2 separate regions of the Homo sapiens genome follow, and region 1 is linked to region 2. Evidence: promoter capture Hi-C in 16 types of primary human blood cells and fetal thymus (Javierre and others, 2016). All regions are on one chromosome and are shown on one strand. Each heading gives the region's core, a stretch centred on a gene start or on the middle of the fragment in contact. The rest is flanking DNA. Distances are from core to core; before and after follow the strand shown.

The links. The method cuts DNA at HindIII sites, captures the fragments that hold promoters and counts their contacts. A CHiCAGO score of 5 or more calls a contact.
Region 1: a fragment that was not itself captured here is called in contact with the fragment with the promoter of KCNK18 in region 2 in 3 of 17 cell types (endothelial precursors, M0 macrophages and M1 macrophages); the score reaches 10.1 in endothelial precursors.

The regions. Positions count from the first base shown.
Region 1 is chr10:116,682,797-116,687,953 of GRCh38, forward strand. HSPA12A (heat shock protein family A (Hsp70) member 12A) reads right to left here. Exons shown (of 12, transcript NM_025015.3): 7 at 995-1,166. Among named protein-coding and RNA genes, the nearest start is that of HSPA12A-AS1, 15 kb to the left of the region's middle. RefSeq lists enhancers at 1-27, 28-527. The HindIII fragment of the contact is 3,128 bases long and covers 462-3,589 here.
Region 2 is chr10:117,194,992-117,200,257 of GRCh38, forward strand. KCNK18 (potassium two pore domain channel subfamily K member 18) reads left to right here and starts at 2,498. Exons shown (of 3, transcript NM_181840.1): 1 at 2,498-2,720. The coding sequence starts at 2,498. It also overlaps the pseudogene RPL12P26. The HindIII fragment of the contact is 2,593 bases long and covers 773-3,365 here.

The sequences.
Region 1 (5,157 bases), core at 776-3,275, 510 kb before region 2:
TTCACGCCATTCTCCTGCCTCAGCCTCCCAAGTAGCTGGGACTACAGGCACCCGCCACCTCGCCCGGCTAATTTTTTTTTTTTTTTTTTTTTGTATTTTTAGTAGAGACGGGGTTTCACCGTGGTCTGGATTTCCTGACCTCGTGATCCGCCTGCCTCGGCCTCCCAAAGTGCTGGGATTACAGGTGTAAGCCACCACGCCCGGCCCCACAATTCTTTTCTTGCAGCCTGAAATTAACCCTTAGACCTTAGGCCCTCGTGCCTTTGAGATTTAACAACAGTGCCCGGCGCCACCCCCATAGTGCTCTCACTTAGCGCTCATATTGGTGCCTTGACCCTGACAGGGCGTGTCTGCAAACCCTATAGCCCTCGACACACCCACAGAGCCCTGGATACCAGGGAACCAAGTTCTGTGACCAAGGCTATGACCTACTTGCATTCAGGTAATTATTAAAGAGGAAAAGCTTTTTAAAATCGCCATCCTCAGTCTCCCTAAGGCGGTGCTCCTTCCCACAGCTAAGCGAGCGTCACCTAGGTCAGGAAAAGTCAGCCGGTTTCATCTGCATTTTAAACTCATCGCACATGAAGCAGACCCAATGAGTGACTCAGCAATAAATCAACAGTCTTAATGGAGAATTAATAACAGGCAATGGAATTAGATTAAGAATCTGTTAATACACAAGAAAGATTAAGAGCCTAGTACAATGTGAGGCCAATAACCGCTCTCAGGCTACCCTCAGATTCTTAGAGAGAAGCTCCCCGCCCCCAGACACTTGGTGGGTGATGAACCAGGGTAACCATGCCTCCATTTATGGGGGTCCTTGGAGGGGCCAGGTAGGGGGGCTGAGCAGAGAGGTGCTTAAAGCCCACCTCCTCCCGGAGTATCCTGATTCTTCATTATGGCACTAAGTGCCTTTAAAATCATCAGAGGGAGAGAGACATCCAGGGCTTGGGAAGGAAGGAGAGCAGGAGGGGGAGAGAGAGAGCAGAGGTACCCTGTGTAAACCCAGCTCCTACTGTGTCACTGCCGCTGTACCCATTGACGGCTGCCTTGCTGCTCAGCTCAATCATCTGGTGTAGCCGCAGCTTTCGGCAGTAGATAGAGGCTGCCTCAGGCTCCAAGGCAATGATGAGCTGCTCCGAGTTCTCGGGGGAGGCCAGGCCTGCCTGGAAGACAGAAACAGAGGCTGGGACCCAGGGCCCCCTGGGCCGGCCTGCTCCTAGGACACCCGTGCCTGGACTGACATCCCTAAGGAGGGCGCACTCGTGCTCTGCATCTGTGGGACATTCTCTACACAGTCCTCTGCAGAGCATAATGTCAGGGTGCCTCGGTACTGGGCCCCAAGCCAGATACCCAAACACCCCAGGGTGGCCAAAGAAAATGTATAGGCACCCTGGGGAAAACACCAGGTGCTCTGGCTGTGGGGCCTCTTGCACTTGGGGCCTCCTTGGCTCAGAGCTGAGCAGCACCATGGGGAGGAGCGGGGGGATTCCGGACTGCAGGAGGCACACGGGCTTCCATGCTCCAGTGGTGAAGGCATGGAGTTGCAGAGACCCTGAAACTTTCCAAACCATCACAGGGTGGAAGGCAGGTGATCTGTTCTCAGTTGTAATATACCACACGGTCTGACCAAATCGGAGCAAACCCCTATCTTTGGTGGCCTTGGAAACAGACCATGGCTGGGCCTCAGCAACACAAGCATTTGACTTTGCTATCTGGGTAACCGACCTGTTATCTCCAGAGCGCTAGGAGGGTTCCTGAGATTTGCCTACTGGGGGTGACAGATAAGCAGTGGCTCCAGGAGGAAGCCCCTCCTGGAATCCCATATAGTCCCTCATTTTCTAGAGTGCGGTTGAGTCAGCAAGAAGATATCTTATTCAAAGCCTCCACCCTTTAATAGTTTTATTATAGACATATATCACATATAGTAATAAATATTCCTTTAACAATCTGATCCCCAAGTTCTCATCTGTGGCTTCCATCTGCAAACATTTGGGGCCTTGGCCTGTAGTAGGCAGAAGTGCTTCTGCTCTGTGACATCTGACCAGTCCCAGTCACCACTCCTGTGGGCCTTCAGAAGGGCCAGCTCAAGAGGCCCTGGGACAACCCTTCTGAGGATGCTCAGAGAAACAGCATGGCTGGGCCTCTAACCAGGTCCCTGGCACCTCTCATGGCCTTGAGCTGCAGCGGGAGGCCCCACTTGCTTCTGGAAACCATTCAGGTACACGGGTGTCCTCAGTTGCCAGCCCGATGGACCACGGAAGAACACTTCATCCCTGCCACTGCCGTGGTGCTGACTTTTTGCCATTTCTTAGGAACCTTGGGATGCTGCCTTCATACCATGCCTACTGGGAGGAAGGCCTCAAGTTCTGTATCAGACCCCTGGGGTTTAGTGCATTCTTCTTGCAGACCAGGTTCAGAAGGTCTCCTAATGTCACACACTCACAAATAACTTCTCATCAGGCGAAGTCGGCCTCATCATGGGCAGAGGGGCTTGGGAGGTCCAATTACTGGGCAAGGAGGGAAGGGGATTTTCAGGTATTAAGAATGCAAAGTGGCCAGGCGTGGTGGCTCACACCTATAATCCCAGCACTTTGGGAGGCTGAGGCGGGCAGATCACCTGAGGTCTGGAGTTCGAGACCAGCCTGGCCAAGATGGTGAAACCCCGTCTCTACTAAAAAAAAAAAATAGCTGGGCATGGTGGGGGCAGTGCCTGTAATCCCAGCTACTCGGGAGGCTGAGGCAGGAGAAATGCTTGAACTTGGGAGGTGGAGGTTGCAGTGAGCCGAGATGGTGCCATTGTACCCCAGCCTGGGTGACAAGAGTGAAACTCCATCTCAAGAAAAAAAAAAAAAAAAGAATGCAAAGGACCTTCAGAGCTATTTATCAACTCCTTCACTTTATGTAGAAAGAGAGGGAGGGTGGCCCACTGTCCCAGTTTGCTCAGGATAGAGAGATTTCCTGGGATGTGAGACTTTCAGTGCTAAAACTGATACTACCAGCAGGCAGGTGACTGAACATCTTCACTCTGTAAATACCAAATGCCTCAAAATGGCAGAACCACATCTGGAAGGCTGACTTTATAAAACCAGATAAGAACCACCACTCTCGTGTCCTGCACTGTCCGTGGCGAACCCTCTTCCCATCACCTAGTACCCTCAGCTACGGCCAACCACCCGGGCAGCATCAATGCCTGTCAGCTCAGCCCATGGGTCAGAGAAGCTGGGTCTGCCCTTAGGTGACATCGGTCAACAGGGCCCTGACTCAGGTGCATGACAGGATTTCCCACTGCCCCCTATTCAAGCAAGTAAAAGTCCCCCCTCCCCAGCTTCACTCTCACAGGGTCACATTAGACATCCTTAGCACAAACATGGCTGGAGGTTAAAGTGAAAGAGGATGTGGCTCTCACACGTATGGTGCCCTCGGGAAAGGTGAAACCTCTGAGCCTGGATCCCAAGGGGTCGGGAGGAAGAAATCCCAAATAAGACCAAGAGGGGCCCCTTCCGAGGGACAGCTCCTGTGCTGATTCTTCCATCCTTGAGGTTGTGGAGTCAAGGACCTCCCAGGAGCATAGAAGGTCCAAGGGGGAAGCTTCCACAAAACGGGGTGAGGAAGAAGGGACAACTTGCTGCAAAGAAACTGCCAGGCCTGTATGTATACAATTCTCCTCCAAAGTTCAAACTTGAAAATAAACTGGGGATGGCAGTAGACCCATGAGTGGAGCCCAAGGAGTTGGTGTGAAGGAAGAAAGGCAAAGACCCAGACGCTACATTACGGTTACCATGTCCCACTGGGATGTCAGCCTGCCAGGTGGGACTTGTGGCAGTGAGGCCCCCACAGGGCCAGAAAAAGCAAGGTGGGCCTGGGCCACGGCAGCAGGGACAGGGATGGGAAGGGAGAAAGGGTGGCATAAGCTCCGCCCCTTGTCCCCTCTTCCCACACTGTAAGTCCCACTCCTCATCCCTCTTCCCACACCATAAGTTCCACCCCTCATCCCTCTTCCCACACCATAAGCTCCACCCCCACCCCTTCCCAAACCATAAGCTCCACCCCTCATCCCTCTTCCCACACCATAAGCTCCGCCCCTCATCCCTCTTCCCACACTGTAAGCTCTGCCCCCATCTCTCTACCCACACTACCCCTGAAATTCTGAGCAGGAACTCTGACTTAGATGGGAAATCTTTATATGGAAATTCAGATCCAGCAGTCTAGAGGGGTGAAGAGCCCTGGGTAAAATTCTACAACTCGAGGGCATCCGAGTGTGCCTGGTGTGCAACTGAAAATCCAGCAGAACTGTCCCCCGCCCAGGACACTCTCACATCCTGAAGACACTGAGGCTGCCCCAAGTCTGTGGAAAACAGCTTGGGCTGGCCACTCAGGGGAGACCTTTCATCTGTCCCTCTCCAGCTGGGCTGGCCTCAGCTCCACAGCAAAAGCTTTGGCCTGTTTCCATAGGGGGTTCCCCACTGTACCAAGATGAGGATGCAGGTGGGAAGCGAAGGTGAAGAGGACCCCACTCCTGAGCAGAGGAAAAGGCAAGGTCATGGGCCCAGGCAGTGTCTGGGAGGCCTCGGACAAAGTAACCACACTTCTTTGCTTGAACCAGCTCCTGTCCAGTGAGGGGCCGTGTCCTACCTGCAAACTCCCATGGAAGCCACAGTAGAGAGCTGAGGAGAGGTGAGAAGAGGCAGCGGACTCTGCACAAATTCAACCTCCCCAGGAGTCCCAGAACTGCTGTGGACTCCGAGAAAAGGAGGAAATGCTAAAGTATCGCCCAGGCTCTCAAAAACCCAGCTGTCTTTCTCTCTGGGCAGGAGGACTCAATGCTTTCAAGTGCAAGCTTTGTTTCTGCATTAACACTTGCAGCCACCCTCAACAGAAGCCCTCCACTTGGCAGCCCTCAGCAAACCTATGGGTCTGTTTGCCTGGGATCAGGCCAGGGTCAACTGCAACCACAGAACACTCTCCGTCTTTGCTAATTCTGCCTTCAGAGAAGGTGCCTCATGGTTACTACTCCCACGTGAGCCCTCCCTCCACTGGGGCCCCTGCCAAGCACTTAACATATTCCGTCTCCAGTCCTATACGCCAAGCTTGTCCAACCCATGGCCCACAGGCCACATTGTGGCCCAGGACGACTTTGGATGCAGCCCAACACAA
Region 2 (5,266 bases), core at 1,248-3,747:
GACCAGTAGAAGAGGTAGCAGAGGGCAAGGAAAAATTAGAATGGATAGTGAAGGAAGGAGATGATGAGTGTCAGTTGCAGCCTTGAGACTGGTGGCAGTAACGGGCTGTTTGTTTTACGAACCTCCTTCTTCTAAGCTTGCCTGCAGGGGGTCAATGCAACTTTATAATAGCCATCCAAACTTATTGATCTTGTGTTTATCGCTCCTTCAATATGTTTCGAATGCGAGTCATTGCACCAGTCAACATGCCATCCCAGCTCACTGCTGGTGACAAGTTTAATAGTTGGGCAGCCACCTTGCACTAAAGGCTGCCTGTACACCATCTCCTTACCACTTGGGTATTAAGGGACCCAGTCCTCAAACCCCATCTTAGCTTTCTTTTTTTTTGAGACAGAGTCTCACTCTGTTGTTCATCCTGGACTACAGTGGTGTGATGTCAGCTCATTTCAACCTCCGCCTCCCAGGTTCAAGCAATTCTTGTGCCTCAGCCTCCAAGCGTAGCTGGGATTACAGGCATGCACCACCATGCCTGGCTAGTTTTTGTATTTTTAGTAGAGACAGGGTTTCACCATGTTGGCCAGGCTGGTCTCAAACTCCTGGCCGCAAGCAATCCGCTCTCCTCAGCCTCCCAAAATGCTGGGATTAGAGGTGCAAGCCACTGTGCCCGACCCCCATCTTAGCTTTTTGAGCAGGCTTTCTCAGACCACTTCTGGTGCCAACTACTGTTGAATCCTCTGGGAAGCAGACACCAAGATAGAGTCACAATTGCAAAAGCTTTTTTGGGAAGACTTGTAAAATGAAAATGAAGGAAGCAGATGGAACAGGGAAAGCCTCTGGATCATAACACAGACTGACAAGTTCTCTCTGTAGACCAAAGGGCCACTCTGGAACAGGCTCAAGTTGGAGGAGTCCTGTATTGGGCAGAAATGAATAGGCCCTTGGGTCCCCACCTTGCTTAGTCAGTGGGCACAGGCTTCTCCAAGAAGAGGGCTTGAAACCGGTGGCAAACCCTCAGAGAACAAAAGGGGCTGTCATGAACCATGCTCATCAAAGCTGCACAGCGAGTCCTTTCTAGAAGAGGGATCTGAACCTGCATGCATCTCCACAGCTGCCATCTGAGGCACTTTTTATCCCCACTGGTTGTCAAATGATCCTTTATTGAAATATTTTCCTTTGTGCTTAACAAGCTGAGCATTCCACTGCACCACTGTTGATGTCATGAGGGTGGTGACCATCAACATTGCAGCCCACAGATGGTGCAGTCCCCGGGATCTTTTTAATTGTTCCAGAGAGTTCCCTAACTAAAGATTGGAGCTGCATCTGTCAGGCAATGTTGACATTCTCATCAAATGATATTTTCATTGGGTTTAATGTTTTTCTGTTTCTTTCTGTCTCCTGGAGGTTCCTTGAGGGCTTTGATGATCAGGGCAGAGGCAGAAGGTACTACCTCAATCTATGCCTGCCTGTTCTGAATGGTTTCACTGTAATCCTCAGATCCTTCAAATCACCGGTTGCCCTAACGATGTCATTACCAATGTGTTTTGGAGACAGACACAGGGGTTTGATCTTAGGGGCCAGCACAGATGTGGCACCAACATCATTCCCGGTGCATCTCAGACTTTAATCTCGTTGGGGTCAAACTTAGGCTGTATGGTGGAGGTAGGTGGTGTTGGATGAACCTGGATTCAGGACCACCAAAGAAAGTTGCACATTGGTCTACTCTGAGCTGAAAATTGAAAGGTGGGGCACCTTTTCTCATGGCAGACACAGGCATAGCTAAGCAAGTCCAAATGCACAAGCACAGGCCTAGCCCCTGCTTGCATCACATCTGCTAATGCCCAGCTGTCTGGAGCAAGTGAGATGACCTACCCTAAAGCCAAGTTCAAGGAAGTACACTCTGCCCACCGTGAGGCCCCAGCAAGGGGGGGTATGCAGCAGGGGAGTGAAGAATTGGGACCAATAATTAGATCCACACAGGATAAAGGTCCTTTGGAAACCATTGAGCTCTGGCCGCATTAGTTACTATGGTTACTGTTACTATTATAGGTTACTACTATTATCACCTGTCCAGAAGACCAGGTACCCTAAGCCAAGTTGTGTCACAGACAGCTCTCAGGAAAGAATCACTTGACTAAACGCCAAAGATCAGGTTTGGGATCTGCAATTCAAAACTGCAGTTTGGGCATAGAAAAGATTAAACGTAGCACAAAACAACAACCACACTATCCTCCCAAAGCCCCTTCCAGGCAGCTCCAGGGCCGGCCCAGCGGATCAATAGCAATCTGGGGTGCTAGGGAGGGCGCCATCTGAGTAGTTCGGAAGAACTGAACATGATGAGTTGCCGGCTGCTTCCTGAGTCCTTGGGGAAGCACACGCACCATCCACTTAGCACTGGAGCCTGGCTGTTCTCCGGGCACTCCTACCCCATCTTCCTGGCGGGGCTTAGATGCTCCTGCCTCTTCCACCAGCTCCTCTTGCCCTGCATGCTTCAGGGACGATGGAGGTCTCGGGGCACCCCCAGGCCAGGAGATGCTGCCCAGAGGCCCTGGGAAAGCTCTTCCCTGGCCTCTGCTTCCTCTGCTTTCTGGTGACCTACGCCCTGGTGGGTGCTGTGGTCTTCTCTGCCATTGAGGACGGCCAGGTCCTGGTGGCAGCAGATGATGGAGAGTTTGAGAAGTTCTTGGAGGAGCTCTGCAGAATCTTGAACTGCAGTGAAACAGGTAGGTGCCTCACCTGGACAGGGTGGGCCTTTTCTCCGTGGTGGCAGCAGTCCCCCAAGAGCAGAGGGCTGCCTTCTAGGAGGCTGGGTCTGGGAGCTGCCTGCCTGGATCCTCCTCATGCCTGGGCACTTTAAGCGAGTAACTTCTTTCTGAACCTCTGTTTTCTCCTCTGAAAAGTGGGGAGACTAACTGCCTCTCAGGGTTGCTGTGAAGAATGCAGGAAAGGCCCTGAGCACCCTGAGGTGCTCAGGAAAGACCAGCTCCCCTTCCTGTGCCTCAGCACCCAGCCCCATCCAGACCAGTGGCCTCAGGGGACGATGGATTACTGGGAATTTGGTGGGGTGGGGTGCATGGGTGAGCAAATCTGGGGCTGGGGTTGGGGGGCTAGCTTGCTTTTCAGAACTATGTCTGCCTGACCCAGGATTCAGTTTGCAGGGATGAGAATTTAGGGAACAACCCAAATTGGATTTAAATTCCAGCAGGAGCACCTGCCACCCACGCCCCCACTTCCTGTTTCAAACTCCTTTTCTGCTGTCTGGCTCAGCGGAGTGGGGAGGTGTTGTGAGAAGACCTGGGGGGAGGGGTGGGGGTCCTGGCTGTTGTCCTGGCTGCTCTCCCAGCTTGCTCTGCAATCCGTGGAGGCAAAGCTTTGTTCTCTCTGGGTCTCAGTCTGCGGGAGAGAAGGGGACCCCCAATCTCAGACTTGGTGGTCACAGGGACCCTGTGAGAAGCAGAGGAGACAAGGAACATTCTGGCTCTTGGAAGACAGAAGTCACTTTATAGTGTCCTCATTGCATTTTCTTCATATTTAGTCACTTGTTTCTACTCTGCTGTGTTCCTCGAAGGAAGCTTGTTATTGTATTCAACAGAGCAAGATAAAACAAGGGAGAGTAGATAAATGAAAAACAAAGGAAAACCAGACACTAAAAGTCAGGAGAAGAATGGGGTGCAGGGAGCCCCTCCCCTCCCACTCTGGTGTGGGGGCTCCTTCCACAGCCCAGACCTTGATTTGGGAACAGGTGCAGCTCCCAGAGACAAGAGGCCAGTCCAGGGAGGCAGAGTCTCCTGTCTGTGGAGGGTCCCACTCCCTGCATCCTTGCCAGACAGACGCCAGCCTGCTCAGTGGACCTGGGAGATTGCTGCCAAAGGGACACTGCACCATCGCAGGGCCTAGACTACCAGCAAGTTCAAGGCTCTCTAAGCCAGCAACACATCAGAATCAACCAGGGAGACTGCCTAGAGTACACATCCCCAGGCTCTTCTCCAAACCCACTTAATCAGGATCTCCAGGGCTGGGCTGGGAATCTTAAAGTTTCAAGGATAAGGCCAAGCATGGTGGCTCATGCCCATAATCCTAGCATTTTGGGAGGCCAAGGTGGGAGAATCATTTGAGGCCAGGAGTTTGAGACTAGGCCTGGGCAACAAGGTGAGACCCTGTCTCTATAAAAAATTAAAAAATTTAGTCAGATGAGGTGGCGTGCACTTGTAGTCCCAGCTACTTGGGAGGCTGAGGCAGGAGGATTGCTTGAGCCTACGAGTTTGAGGCTACAGTGAGCCGTGATTGTGCCATTGCACTCCAGCCTGGATGACAGAGCCAGAGATGTCTCAAAAATAAATAAGTAAAAATAAAGTTTATCAGGTGATTCCAATGCACAGCAGGGTATGGGAACACAGAGCTGGTCCCACTCCATTTTGTACCGATTTTCACTGGAGATTAAAATGTTCCATAAGGGTTAGTTGCATGTAGACCCTGTGGCAAACACTTCACACATTATCTCACCTAATCCTCACAAGAAGCCTCACAAGAAAACAACAAAAAGTTGTCCTTCTTTTACAGATTAGGAAATTGAGGCCTTGGGAGGTTAAGCAATTTGTCCAAGTTCACAAACTAGAAAAATGGAACCAGGGACTTAAACCCATGTATCTGGATTCCAGAGCCTGAACCTTTCACCACCATCTCAGGCTGTCTCTCTGATGGGGAAACTGAGGCTCAGAAAGCAGCCTCTTGTCCACAGTTACAGAACTTATCAGGGTTAGAGCTGGGTCTAGAATCGATGTGTGTAGACTCCCAGGCTGGTGCCAATTAAAAGGAGTAGAGACTTCCTGCTGCATGCCAGGTTCAGTGCCATTCTCTTAAAGCCGAACAAGTCTAGCAGGTGGCCTCTGGGTCCCAAAGCCCACTGGCGGCTCAGGCCAATCGAGCCATTCAGGAACCTCTCTGGGAAACCAGGGTTCCCAACCCTGCTCTGTTAGCCTTGGAACCAATGTGTAGGAAGTCAAGTTTTCCCAGCTCTGTAGGAGACACTCACAGGTAGCTGGTGCCCAAAGATCACAGTATGATGGTATGATGATCAAACTCCATCAAGTTTTTATTTTTATTTTTCTAGATGGAGACTCACTCTGTCACTCAGGCTGGGATGCAGTGGCACGATCTTGGCTCACTGCAACCTCCACTCCCCAGGTTCAAGCAATTCTCCTGCCTCAGCCTCCTGAGTAGCTGGGACCACAGGTGTGTGCCACCACACCCGGCTAATTTTTGTATTTTT